Linked DNA regions of Homo sapiens: regions 1, 3 and 4 are each linked to region 2. The links are contacts of gene promoters, found by promoter capture Hi-C in blood cells and fetal thymus (Javierre and others, 2016). All regions are on one chromosome and are shown on one strand. Each heading gives the region's core, a stretch centred on a gene start or on the middle of the fragment in contact. The rest is flanking DNA. Distances are from core to core; before and after follow the strand shown. Region 1 overlaps KRT40 (keratin 40). Region 2 holds the start of KRTAP4-2 (keratin associated protein 4-2). Region 3 has its middle 5.4 kb from the start of KRTAP17-1. Region 4 overlaps KRT23 (keratin 23).

Region 1 (3,198 bases), core at 121-2,620, 200 kb after region 2:
TTTCTCTTTTGCTGTGAAAGGTACGAGAGTGAACTGTCCCTTCGCCAGCTGTTAGAGGCTGACATCAGCAGCCTGCATGGGATCCTGGAGGAACTGACCCTGTGCAAATCTGATCTGGAGGCCCATGTGGAGTCTCTGAAGGAAGATCTCCTTTGCCTTAAGAAAAACCATGAAGAGGTAAGGAAAGTGGCAACTCCGCTGAAGGACTCCGAGAGTAACGTACTTACATTGACAGATGATCTGTTGATGTTTGTAAATCGAATTTGGGCAGATGTTGTTTAAGCTGGAATAAAACTACTTGAGGCAGGGCCAGGCATGGTGGCTCACACCTGTAATCCAAGCACTTTGGGAGGCTGAGGCAGGAGGATCACAAGGTCAGGAGTTCGAGACCAGCCTGACCAATATGATGAAACCTCATCTCTACTAAAAATACAAAAATTAGCTGGGCATGGTGGCAGGCGCCTGTAGTCCTAGCTACTCGGGAGGCTGAGGCAGGAGAATCACTTGAACTCAGGAGGCGGAGGTTGCAGTGAGCCGAGATCTTACCACTGCACTCCAGCCTGGGTGACAGGGCGAGACTCCATCTCAAAAAACAAACAAACAAACAAACAAACAAAAACTACTCGAGGCATTATTACTATTCAACCTGATCATTCCAGTGTGTCTCTGATTTAAGGTGTGAAATAACCCCTAGACAGCGCCAGAGGAAGGAATCAAACTCTTCTCCTGCCCTTGCCTTTGTGGAGGAGGTAACTTCACAAATGGCTTCCTTTGGAGGCTTTATGCCACCCCTAGCTCCAGTCCACAGGGTATGAAAATCAGGCTGAGGAACAGACTGTGAAGTCCATTTCAAAAAAGGGATAAAGACTGTGCACTATCTGGACCAGTGTTTTTAAATATTCCGCATTTATAAACTTCTAAAAATCATAAAATATACAGCCACTGATATATTGATAAAGCTAGAAAATGAAAAGCTGAATGATGTAACAAAGTACATTTGCTCTTTGAACGTTTGTTGATGACAATCATAGCTAACATTTATTGACACCTTACTATGTGTCATAATTAACTTTTATAAGTTAATTATGTGTAGATTGACTCTTCTAGATCTCACAATAACTTTCTGGAAAAATGTCCAATTATTATGTCCATTTTACAGACGAAGAAACTGAGGCCCTTCTAAGTGGTGAAAAGAGATTCAGCCCAGGCAATCTGAATCAAAATCTCACACTTTTACCCACTGCTCCAAAAAACAGAAGTAGAATGCCATTGGATGTCAAATGGATTTTTCCCCACCATTCTGTGACATTCTTTACACCATCCCACTTTCAGGAAGTCAACTTGCTTCGTGAACAGCTTGGCGACCGCCTCAGTGTGGAGCTGGACACTGCCCCCACCCTTGACCTCAACAGGGTCCTGGATGAGATGCGCTGTCAGTGTGAAACGGTGCTTGCCAACAATCGCAGAGAAGCTGAAGAATGGTTGGCTGTTCAGGTCAGTACCCAGATTGAAAAAATGTCAGGCTTACAGACTTCTGCCTTTTTTGAATTCTCTAATGGTGTCTGTGTTTCAGACAGAAGAGCTGAATCAGCAGCAACTGTCCAGCGCGGAGCAGCTGCAGGGCTGCCAGATGGAGATCTTGGAACTGAAACGCACAGCCAGTGCTCTGGAAATTGAGCTCCAAGCACAGCAAAGCCTGGTGCGTGAGGCAAAGGCAGTGTCCGTTGTGTCACTGATAAGTCAGGCCCTGAGATGTTAAGCCCTCTTCCATATCCGAGGATCACATTTCCTTGCCTTTCCCGAGTACTGCCGTTTACCCAGCTATTAATAGAAGCAGAAGTGACAGGTCCACAGCTTGTCCTCTAAGATGCCTTACCTTCACTCCTGGGCTTGAGTCTGATGCTGCAGCAGCCTCCAGAGACAGGGAGGGAGAAGCAGAGCTGGAGAGAAACCTCCGGGCCATGGTCGCTTAAGCATTCTGGCAGGTTTTAATTCTCATTTGATTCAGGCCAGTTTTCCAGGCTCACTGTTATATCTAAAACAAAGAATCATTTTCAAACATTTCATCCTACAGTTTCCCAGGATCTACACTTCAACCTTATCCTTCACTGCACCACCCCCCACTCAAGCAACAGGAACACCATGCGTTCAAGATGACATGAACCAGTTCTGGTCAAGCACCACTGTGTGCATGTCATTAGGCCCTGCGGAGAACACCTAGAAGAACAATAGCTGAGCATTCATCCTGTGAGAGGCACTATGCTGATTTAAGGCTCACAGTAACTTTACCGGATAGATACCTTTATCCCATGACACAGATAAGGAAAACTGAGACTCAGATTAAGTAACTTGCAAAGGATGCAATTCTAAGAGGCAAACTTGGAAGCTGAGTTCAGCCAGTTGAATCCCAGAGTCTCTTCTCTCTCTCTTTTTAAATTTATTTTTATTGATATATAATATGCGTAAATTTTTTTTACGTAGATGTGATATTTTGTTACATGCATAGAATGTGTAATGATCAAGTCAGGATATTTAGAGCATCCATCACCTCAAGTATTTATCATTTCTATGTGTTGGGAGCATTTCAAGTCCTCCCATCTAGCTATTTTGAAATGCACAGTGTATTGTTGTTAACTGTAGTCACACTTCTCTGCTGTCCAACATGAAAACATATTCTTTCTGTCTAACTGTATGTTTGCACCCATTAACCAACCTCTCTTCATCCCCTTACCACACATATGCCAGTCCCAGCCTCTGGTATCCAGAGCCTCTTCTCTTAATAGCACTATACTACCCCTCCCTGCCAAGAGCCCAAACTCAATCTTTCCTCTCATATGTTGTGGATAGTCCTTAAGCTTCACAAATATGTCATGTATTGCTGTAGTCATAGTGGTGGTAGTGATAGTTGACACGTAGAACAGTGGCAGTATGGCTGGCACTGTTCTAAATGCTTTACGCACATTAACTCTTTTTTTTTTTTTTTGGACGGAGTCTCCCTCTGTCGCCCAGGCTGGAGTGCAATGGCATGATCTTGACTTACTGCAAGCTTTGCCTCCCGGGTTCACACCATTCTCCTGAGTAGCTGGGACTACAGGCGTCCACCACCGTACCCAGCTAATTTTTTATATTTTTAGTAGAGACGGGGTTTCACCGTGTTAGCCAGGATGGTCTCGATCTTCTGACCTTGTGATCCGCCCG
Region 2 (3,319 bases), core at 543-3,042:
AACACACACACACACACACACACTCACACACACTCACATCATGAAGAAAAATAGTTAATATAAAGTGATCTCTACTGAATCATCAGCAGGCACCAATCGTCACGGCTTCTCAAGGGCACGATTCTTTTCCAGAATACAAGGTCTCCTGGAAATCTTAGAGTTGTTCTCGTACACCACCATGGGGCTCACAGGGTCTTAATTCCACAGCATCATGGAACCCACTTTCATCCCTCAATAAAATATGATGTCTGGGTACATCAGAGCCAGAGAACAGTGCAGGCTCAGAACACCAGCCAGCGCACCAAGCAGGGGTTCACTTGGGAGCCCAAGTTGTTTTCATTCTGCTTGAATCACCTGGAAATTAGGGCCAGGGCAGGAGTAGGAACTGGCTTGGAACATAGCAGCATCATAAGAACACCACAATTTGATTTATTAGACTTATAAGCACCTGAGAGAAGAAAGGGAATCTCCCTCATTCATCCAATCCCCTCCATCTGGTTCTTGGATCTCCCTCAGAAACACCAGCTTACACTGAAACTCCTCCCCTGATTATCTGCAGAGGCTGCCCAGTTCATAAAACATTTCTATCATGGTAAGTCAGACATTTTTCCACCCCCTTCCCTGGGTTCCTTGACTCCTCAGGGGTGGGGAAATACATATATATTTATTAACTGATGAGTTAATGAATTGACAACATAGCACATTTTTGAAACAATAGTCAGCCATCCCTACATGAAAAAATATAGGCTGATATCCTTTGTTCTTGATACCTGTTTTCTGCTTTCTTTCTCTCTTTATTGATTTATTTTTTGAAAACAAAGATGTAAAGTGTGAAATTGGATCAACAACTTCTATAAGGAAGCAGCAGAGTATAGGACATCTTCAAGGCCCAGCAATTCAGCAGAGAAAGCAAGAGGGCTGGGAGCGAATTAGAGCAAGCAAAGGATACTGAGTCATCTAATTTGGGTTGGCCAGAAAATTTTGGAACCTGGAGAGATGAGCTCATGTGCCCTGTTAGAGCTAGGAAGGCAGAAAGGCAAAGTCACAAGGAAAATCTGCCCCAGGGAGCAAAAAAATGAGGGACTTGGACCTTTAAGTATAGCTGTTCTCTGAAGCCAACATTCCCCAAGAGGCCCTGAATCTGAATTTTGGAGGGTTGTTTCTGTAGAAAAGGAAACATCAAACTTTCACAGCTTAGTTTTCCACCTTAAAACAGCTCTGTATTTCTCATCAGAAGGTCTAGAAAATGGGTCACAATTCAGAGTGCGGAAGATAAAAAAGCGATAGGTCCTACGGTGTTCTCGTTCTCACACCAGTGGTCATCTGTTTCACACTGAAATCTGTTTCACACTGAAACCTTCACAGGCCATCTGACCCATAATGAAGGAGCCATCAGACTGAAATGCAGCTTTATCCTCCTGAGTCACCAGAAAGAGTCAAGGGCCTGTAAGAATAGTAATCACCCAAGAGTAGTCATGATGTGTTAAGCAAATGAGACTGAAGCACATAGTATGTGCTTACAGGCAGATGTCACATGGCTGCTCTAGGAGGAAGCTATAGTAAGAGAGACACAGGAGGTGGTTCAGGAAGAGCTGAGCTAAGGAGTCCTAACACATTAGGGAAAGGAGACAGTGTTTCCATCTATGTGGATAAGTTAACCAGAACAACAAACTTGCCTAATTTGATAATTGCCTACATATCAGGACAAATAATAACAAGGAAAGAGTGTTGCATCTGATGACATCAGGCCTTAGCAGGGTATAAAAGAGGATCTGGGGCAAGGAAACTTCCAAACCTTCCAAACCCACCTTCCTGGAAATCCACCCAGAACCTCCACCCTCTGACACCATGGTCAACTCCTGTTGTGGCTCTGTGTGCTCTGACCAGGGCTGTGGCCTAGAGAACTGCTGCCGTCCCAGCTGCTGCCAGACCACCTGCTGCAGGACCACCTGCTGCCGCCCCAGCTGCTGTGTGTCCAGCTGCTGCAGACCGCAGTGCTGCCAGTCTGTGTGCTGCCAGCCCACCTGCTGCAGCCCCAGCTGCTGCCAGACCACTTGCTGCAGGACCACCTGCTGCCGTCCCAGCTGCTGTGTGTCCAGCTGCTTCAGACCCCAGTGCTGCCAGTCTGTGTACTGCCAGCCCACCTGCTGCCGCCCCAGCTGTGGCCAGACCACCTGCTGCAGGACCACCTGCTACCGCCCCAGCTGCTGTGTGTCCACCTGCTGCCGCCCAACCTGCTCTAGTGGCTCTTGCTGCTGATGCCCTCACCTATACTCACCTGCCTTTATTAACCAGCATTCTTGATATGATCCACCTGTGAACTGAATCATGCAAGGCCAATTGGACAACCTCAGTTCCAACCAATTCTTGGATTGAGTTTGGCCTCCAAATATGCTCACCAAACACTATGTTGCTACCCTCTACCAAATGAATACAAGTTTGAATTTTCTCTGAAATATGTCAACCCCATGTTCCCTGAATTGAAATATTTGCTCTCTACCATAATTTATCACATGGAGCTATTCCTCTATCTTAAATAAATTTTAATTTTTGAGGCATACAAATAATATACGGGCATTGTGTCTCATTTTTCCTTCTTGAATTCTCATCCTTACCTGTCAAATTTTCTGATGTTCTTCCCTGCAGAGGGAGAAGACCACAGCAGATGATATCAGGGGCTCCACCTCTATCCTATCAGCACTCTCCATTCAAACATAGGAAAATGGTTCCTTAGAGCAGGCACCTGGAACTCTCTACCTGAGGACTTTCTCTGGATAAAGGAGCAAACTCTGGGCTGGAGACTTAAAGCCTCTAGGAACAGCACTCAGAGAATGAGTGGGAGTTGGTAATATATGCCCTGGCTTGTTTCCCTCCAGTGGGGGGTATGTCAAACCAGTCTTCCAGAGGTCTTCAGCGGGATTTATACCAGATGCCTGCAGGAACATTCTGATCATGAACTCACTCTATAATGACTTTCCCTCCTTCCCAGGGTCATTCTTCAAGTTTCCTCCAGTGTTTCTTGGGTTAATCGTCCAAATATACCACATGTTCTCAGATCCTCTTTTGTGGGTTTGCCCCAGAGAGCACACAATCTAAAACAGCAGCATTCCTAATCTCAGTATTAGTGTCCTTCAAAATGTTTTTGTACAATATGAATGGTTACCATAGATTTTGATCAACTCTTGAGTTTACTGTCACCTGAATGGACACCTCTGAACATTTTGCTGTTTTTTTTCTTTTCAATTTTTGCGCATTACAATTTTTTTCTATTATTTGTTCATTTACTTTTTTGGTCTTCTTTTAAGAATTTTAATTTTTA
Region 3 (3,134 bases), core at 527-3,026, 140 kb before region 2:
GTTAATTGGATGCATGGTTTAAATTAGTTCCATGTAAATATAATAAGCTTCTCTCATCAAACCAAATTTTTGTTGAGTTGCTTCTGGTGAATCTAGTGTCAGAGCCTGTCTTGTGAGTGCTTCTAAAGGAAACACTAGAAGCTGCTTGTGTAATATCATGAGATGAACACTAGAGGCTGCCAGAACAGACGACATGATTGCGTTTTTGATCTCTACATTCTGTTCTTTCTTGTACAGAAACTATTTTTTTTATTTATTAGAGACAGGGTCTCGCTCCATTGCCCAGGCTGGAGTGTAGTGGCTTGATCATGGCTCCTTGAGCTCAGTCACTGCAGCCTTGAGCTCTTAGGCTCAAGCCATCCTCCTGCCTCAGCCTTCTGAGTAGCTGGGACTACAGGCATGCACCACCACACCCAGCAAATTTTTTATTTTTTAATTTTTTGTAGAGGCAGGATCTTGTCAGCAAACTTCATTTAATAGGCAGTCAAGTTCCCCAATTAGGAAAACTAGGATTTTTTTTTTTTTTTGTAAAGCAGTATCTGCCACACACCAAAGTAAATTCCTGATGGATAGCAGCATTAAGTATAAAAAATACAACCATAAAATAGATGAAAATAAAGCAAATAGTTGTCTGATTTGGGGATGGAGGAGAACTTTTGAAACAAAACACTAGGAAAAAAAGATTTCCCTACATAGAAAGAAATTTCTGTGCGTAAAAATATAGACACAACTAAAAGAAAGTGATACACCCTGGGACAAATTTTGCAACATGTGTGAGTGACACAACGAAAAGTTAATATACCTGGCATAATAAAATAAGTTCATATAAGTAAGGTGGGAAAGATGGGTAGCTAATTAGAATGAGCAGATAATTTCTAAAAAGGAAATAACAGTGGCCTATAAAAATATGCAATGATAATTACTAAGTACAAATAAATACTATAATGAGACTTCATAATTGGCCTACCCAATTGACAAAGAGATTTTAAAAATAACAACTAATATTGGCGAAGGCACTGTGAAGTGAACACAAATGAGGACAATTTTTCTGGAGAGTAATTAAAAAAATAATTTCAACTTTTCTTTTGGATTCAGGGGGTATACGTGTAGGTTTGCTACCTGGGTATATATGCTGAGGTTTGTGGTACAATTGATCTCATCATCCAGATAGTGAGCATAGTAACCAATAGTTAGTTTTTCTACCCTTGCTCCTCTCCTTCCCTTTCCCCTCTCATAGTCTCCAGTGTCTATTGTTGCCATATTTACGTCCATGTGAATTCACTGTTTAGCTCCCACTTGTAAGTGAGAACACATGGTATTTAGCTTTCTGTTCTTGTATTAATTCACTTAGGATAATGGCCTCCAGCTGCATCCATGTTGCTGCAAATGACATGATTTTTTTTTTTATGGCCAGGTAGTATTCCATGGTGTATGTGTGCCACATTTTCCTTACATAGTCCACTGCTGATGGGCATTTAGGCTGATTCTATGTCTTTGCTATTGTGAATAGTGCTGCAATGAACATATAAGTGGATGTGTGTTTTTTTGGTAGAACGATTTATTTTCTTTTGGATGTATACCCAGTGATATAATTTGGATCTGTGTTCCTGCCCAAATCTCATGTTCAGTTGTTAATTCCCAGCGTTGCAGGTGGGTCCTGGTGGGAGGTGATTGGATCACAGGGGTGATTTCTGATGAATGGTTTAGCACTAGCCCCCTTGGTTGTGATAGTGAGTGAGTTCTTGTGAGATCTGGTCATTTAAAAGTGTGTAGCATCTCCCCACTCTCTCTCTTCCTCCTGCCCTGGCCATGTGAAGTGCCAGCTACCCTTTGCCTGCTGCCATGATTGTAAGTTTTCTGAGGCCTCCCCAGAACCTGAGAAGATGCCTGCATCATGCTTCCTGTATAGCTTATGAAACTGTGAGCCAATTAATCCTCTTTTCTTTCTAAATTACCCAGTCTCAGGCATTTCTTCATAGTAGTGCAAGAACAGACTAATACACCCAGTAATGGGATTGCTGGGTTGAATGGTAGTTCTATTTGAAGTTCTTTGAGAAATCTCTAAACTGCGTTCCACAGTGGCTGAACTAATTTACATTCCCACCAACAGTGTATAAGCGGTCCCTTTTCTCTACACCCTCACCAACATCTGTTGTTTTTTGACTTTTTAATAATTGCCATTCTGACTGGTGTGAGATGGTATCTTACTGTGGTTTTGATTTGCATTTCTCTGATGATTAATGATGTGGAGCATTTTTTCACATGTTTGTTGACCACTCGCATGTCTTCTTTTGAGAAGTGTCTGTTCATGTCTTTTGCCCACTTTTTAACAGGGTCATTTGTTTTTTCCTTGTTGAATTGTTTAAGTTTTTCATAGATTCTGGATATTAGATCTTTTTTGGATGCATAGTTTGTGGATATTTTCTTCCATTCTATAGGTTATCTGTTTACTCTGTTGATAGTTTCTTTTACTGTGCTGAAGCTCTTTCATTTAAATAGATCCCACTTGTCAATTTTTGTTTTTGTTGCATTTGTTTTTGAGAACTTAGTAATGCATTTTTTCCCAAGACTAGTGTTCAGAATGATGTTTCCTAGTTTTTCTTCTAGGATTCTTATAGTTTGAGGCCTTACATTTAAATCTTTAATCCATCTTGAGTTAATTTTTCTATATGGTGAAATACAGAGGTTGTTTAATTCTTCTGCATATGGCTAGCCAGTTATCCCAGCACCATTTATTGAATCGGGAGTCCTTTCCCCAATGCTTATTTTTGTTAACTTTGTCAAAGATCAGGTGGCTGTAGGTGAGCAGCTTTATTTCCGGATTCTCTATTCTGTTCCATTGTATATGTCTGTTTTTGTACCAGTACCATGCTGTTTTGGTTACTGTAGCTTTACACTATAGTTTGAAATTGGGTAACGTGATACCTTCCACTTTGTTCTTTCTGCTTAGGATTGCATTGGCTCTTTGGGATCTTTTCTGGTTCCATATGAAATTTAGAATAGTTTTTTCAAATTCTGTTAAAAATGATGTTGGTAGTTTGATAGTGTTGATTCTGGAGCCATGTTGCAACAGATACTGTATACTTACATCATTTTATATATATCTTGATATATCCCTGTCGTAAACTCTTAGA
Region 4 (3,267 bases), core at 1-2,500, 240 kb after region 2:
CACCTTCTCGGCTGCCTCAGCACAGCAAGCTTTATTCTGGGACCTGAGATCCTGTTCTGAGCTGGCTTTCCCTTCTCCAGGCTCGCTCACCCTCCCTTTAGAGGTGGGGCTTATTGGGGGTGGAAAAAGGTGTGTGTATCTCTGTTGTTTAATGTCTGGTTTTTTGTTGCTGTTGTTGTTGTTTTGTTTTGGTTTTGGTTTTTGGTTTTTTTTAAGGAAATCTATACTACATCGAATATGCTTTCTTTTGGGTGGACTTTAACCTAACCCATTCCAGGTAAATGAACAATGGAAAAACTTCACGGCAAGATTAGAAAGATACCTGAGCCCAATACCCGCCTGATGTCGTGGGCCACACCTCCGGGTTACCAGGGGAAGGGAGGAAGCAAACTGTCATATTGATGTGGCTCTAAACAACAACAGTGTGCGAAGGCCCAGGGGCACTTTGGGATTGACCAAGAGGAAACACAAGTTGCACAATGATACAATCTTGTTGGTACAATTGTCAGAGAAGGGAACTCCCACAGCAAAGGCCATAAAACCATCCAGGGCAGTCTGGGGCGGCTCAGTTCTGCGGTGCCAGGGAGTGGAGCAGAGCTCAGCCCCGTCCCAAACACAGATGGGACCATGAACTCCGGACACAGCTTCAGCCAGACCCCCTCGGCCTCCTTCCATGGCGCCGGAGGTGGCTGGGGCCGGCCCAGGAGCTTCCCCAGGGCTCCCACCGTCCATGGCGGTGCGGGGGGAGCCCGCATCTCCCTGTCCTTCACCACGCGGAGCTGCCCACCCCCTGGAGGGTCTTGGGGTTCTGGAAGAAGCAGCCCCCTACTAGGCGGAAATGGGAAGGCCACCATGCAGAATCTCAACGACCGCCTGGCCTCCTACCTGGAGAAGGTTCGCGCCCTGGAGGAGGCCAACATGAAGCTGGAAAGCCGCATCCTGAAATGGCACCAGCAGAGAGATCCTGGCAGTAAGAAAGATTATTCCCAGTATGAGGAAAACATCACACACCTGCAGGAGCAGGTAAGATGCTGGGTGACCCTGGAGATCCAGATGGGGCTGCTTTGCCAGGGGACCCTCGGGAGGAAAAATGAGTCCAGAAGACAATTTCCAGGAAAATGGCATCAGCGCTTGAAGTAATTGTGCACAAAGGTTTTGGGGGATGTTTTCTTATTATATCTTAAATTTGGAGTGGGAAACGTCTGTTTTGTTTAATTAGTCTACTGTCCATGGATAATGTAGAAAAAGAAGGCAGCAAAAATGATAGAAGTGCTACAGACTGTTTCAAAAATGAGACTACTGATTTCTCACAGACCAAAAACATCTTTAAAATGTGAGGCAACCAGCTGCTGTTTAATGTCACTTATGACCCAACGATGTCATAGAAATGATAAGGGCTGGTGTTCATGCTGCATGCTCAGTGCACCAGGCATAAGAGAGTGTTTACTTTCTCATTACCTCAGTTCTGCTCCACCTCAAACTTTTTTGAACAATGTGGTTATCCATCGACAAAAGGCTGTTACACTATTTTGAAGATTATGCCTAAAAGTTGTCACCACACCAGCATATAGGTCATCATGACATCCCTAGATATTTCCGTTTGTGGGTTGCTTGCAGTAAAGTTGCTCACAGTTCTGACAATGGCATATTGCTAGAACCAATAATAATAAAATGAGCATAATTTTTAGAATCTGAGAGTTGAGATGGCTATAAAGACCTTGTTCAAAAAAAACCGAACTCTTTAACCAAACCTCAAAAAAGCTAAGCAAATACCTTCTGGGATGTCTCATAACATTAGCTAGAAGTAGAAGGAATCCAATCATCTCATAGGTTATGTTTTAAAGCTATCTAACTCCCCTCTTATATAAAGCAGTCCCAGAAAATTCCCTGTAAGACCATGATTTAACCTCCCCTAGAAAGGGTATCACAAGTTTCCAATATTTATATATATTATTTCACAATGCTCAGTCATCCTTGCTTGAATGTAGGAAGGACCAGTCAAGATAATATAAATCTGTCCTTGTAATGAACCCTAATTATTGAATAATCAACCTAATAACTGACTGTAATTACCTTAACTATATAGTGCATGGTTGTCTTTATGAAAAAAAAAAAAAAACAAGGTGACTCAACAGTCCTCATCATGTTTTTTTGTTTAATAAAGTTGCTTTGGTTGTAGAAAGGAGGAATTGAAGATTTTTGCAAATGGAGAGCAAAGGGAGACCATGACTCCCAAAAGAAATACAAGGTTAGAACCAGTCAAATAATTTATGAGCTCGCGGAAGAGATTTAAAAAAAAGAAAGGGAGGAAAGAGAGGGAAATGTTTACTGAGCACTTATTATGTACCTAGGCATCCTGCTGGATATTTAATACACATGTCAACACTATCCAAGAGTTTTCTGCAATGATGGAAATGTTCCATATTATTTTATTTGATTCTGCAAGAACCCTGTAAGGAAATGGAAGCTTGGAAAAAAGTGAAATAGCCATCCAAAGCCATCAGCAAGAAGCAGAGGTGGGATTCTAACTCAGGTCTGTTTCCAGTAGCCTCATAAATTTCACTACAGTGTAGTGCTGCCTAGCCCACCTCATATAAAAATGACACTTAGTATGAATAAAGATAATGCATTATACTTGCATCATTAACCACACATCACATACTTCATACACATTGTCTCATTTAATCCTCACAACTGTGTGGAGCAGGTATTTGTATTCTCAACTTACAGATAAGGAGACTGAGACCTAATCATTGTCTAAATCCTTTGGAACAGAATTGAGAAAAGTGAGTAGGTGCAATGGGGGGTGTGGGGAGCAACCTGCCCACCCTTCAGATGACCTGGAATTCTGGGTTCTGAGATTGAATAGGAAACTTCTTTGGCTTTGAATTTCACTCTTTTCTGGATTTTTACCTCTAACATTGTGTTTTCTCTACACTTGAAGAAAGAAACTCTTTAAAGTTGAGGTTGTCTATCTACCCCAACCTCCCTCATTTGAAGATGAGAAAACAGAGGTGCAAGGAGGTCCCACAATTACCTGGGGCTTATCCTTCCTGGACCTTGGTGAAATGCTCTGAGTGGATACAGTTCTCCCGTACCCTCACTTTAGGTATATTAAATATCACTCAAAAGGTTGATAACAAGTTGAGCTTAAAAATTAATTCAATCCTTTTGAAATCCAGAATTGGACACAGTCATAGGAGTATCATAAATAAAACACCTTGAATGATTCTCAATCGGACTATATTTGGCATTTTTGTTTACAGT

What was found. Contacts are between HindIII fragments. The CHiCAGO score rates a contact against its expected background, and 5 or more counts as called.
Region 1: a contact is called between a fragment that was not itself captured here and the fragment with the promoter of KRTAP4-2 in region 2, in 1 of 17 cell types (endothelial precursors). The highest score is 5.1, in endothelial precursors.
Region 3: a fragment that was not itself captured here is called in contact with the fragment with the promoter of KRTAP4-2 in region 2 in 5 of 17 cell types (total CD4 T cells, naive CD8 T cells, naive B cells and 2 more); the score reaches 7.1 in total CD4 T cells.
Region 4: a contact is called between a fragment that was not itself captured here and the fragment with the promoter of KRTAP4-2 in region 2, in 1 of 17 cell types (naive B cells). The highest score is 5.4, in naive B cells.

The regions. Positions count from the first base shown.
Region 1 is chr17:40,979,286-40,982,483 of GRCh38, reverse strand. KRT40 (keratin 40) reads left to right here. Exons shown (of 7, transcript NM_001389244.1): 3 at 21-177; 4 at 1,333-1,494; 5 at 1,574-1,699. LOC107985072 (a long non-coding RNA gene) reads right to left here. Exons shown (of 4, transcript XR_001752886.2): 3 at 1,877-2,035; 4 at 1-156. Among named protein-coding and RNA genes, the nearest start is that of KRT40, 3.4 kb to the left of the region's middle. RefSeq lists an enhancer at 1,877-2,478. The HindIII fragment of the contact is 2,975 bases long and covers 1-2,857 here.
Region 2 is chr17:41,176,694-41,180,012 of GRCh38, reverse strand. KRTAP4-2 (keratin associated protein 4-2) reads left to right here and starts at 1,792. Exons shown (of 1, transcript NM_033062.4): 1 at 1,792-2,567. The coding sequence starts at 1,849. The coding sequence ends at 2,259. The HindIII fragment of the contact is 17,641 bases long and covers 1-3,319 here.
Region 3 is chr17:41,319,547-41,322,680 of GRCh38, reverse strand. No RefSeq gene overlaps it. Among named protein-coding and RNA genes, the nearest start is that of KRTAP17-1, 5.4 kb to the right of the region's middle. The HindIII fragment of the contact is 3,454 bases long and covers 50-3,134 here.
Region 4 is chr17:40,933,964-40,937,230 of GRCh38, reverse strand. It overlaps KRT23 (keratin 23), which reads left to right. Exons shown (of 9, transcript NM_015515.5): 2 at 278-1,023. The coding sequence starts at 628. All of the region lies in intron 1 of LOC107985072 (a long non-coding RNA gene), which reads right to left. Among named protein-coding and RNA genes, the nearest start is that of KRT23, 2.0 kb to the left of the region's middle. The HindIII fragment of the contact is 2,438 bases long and covers 32-2,469 here.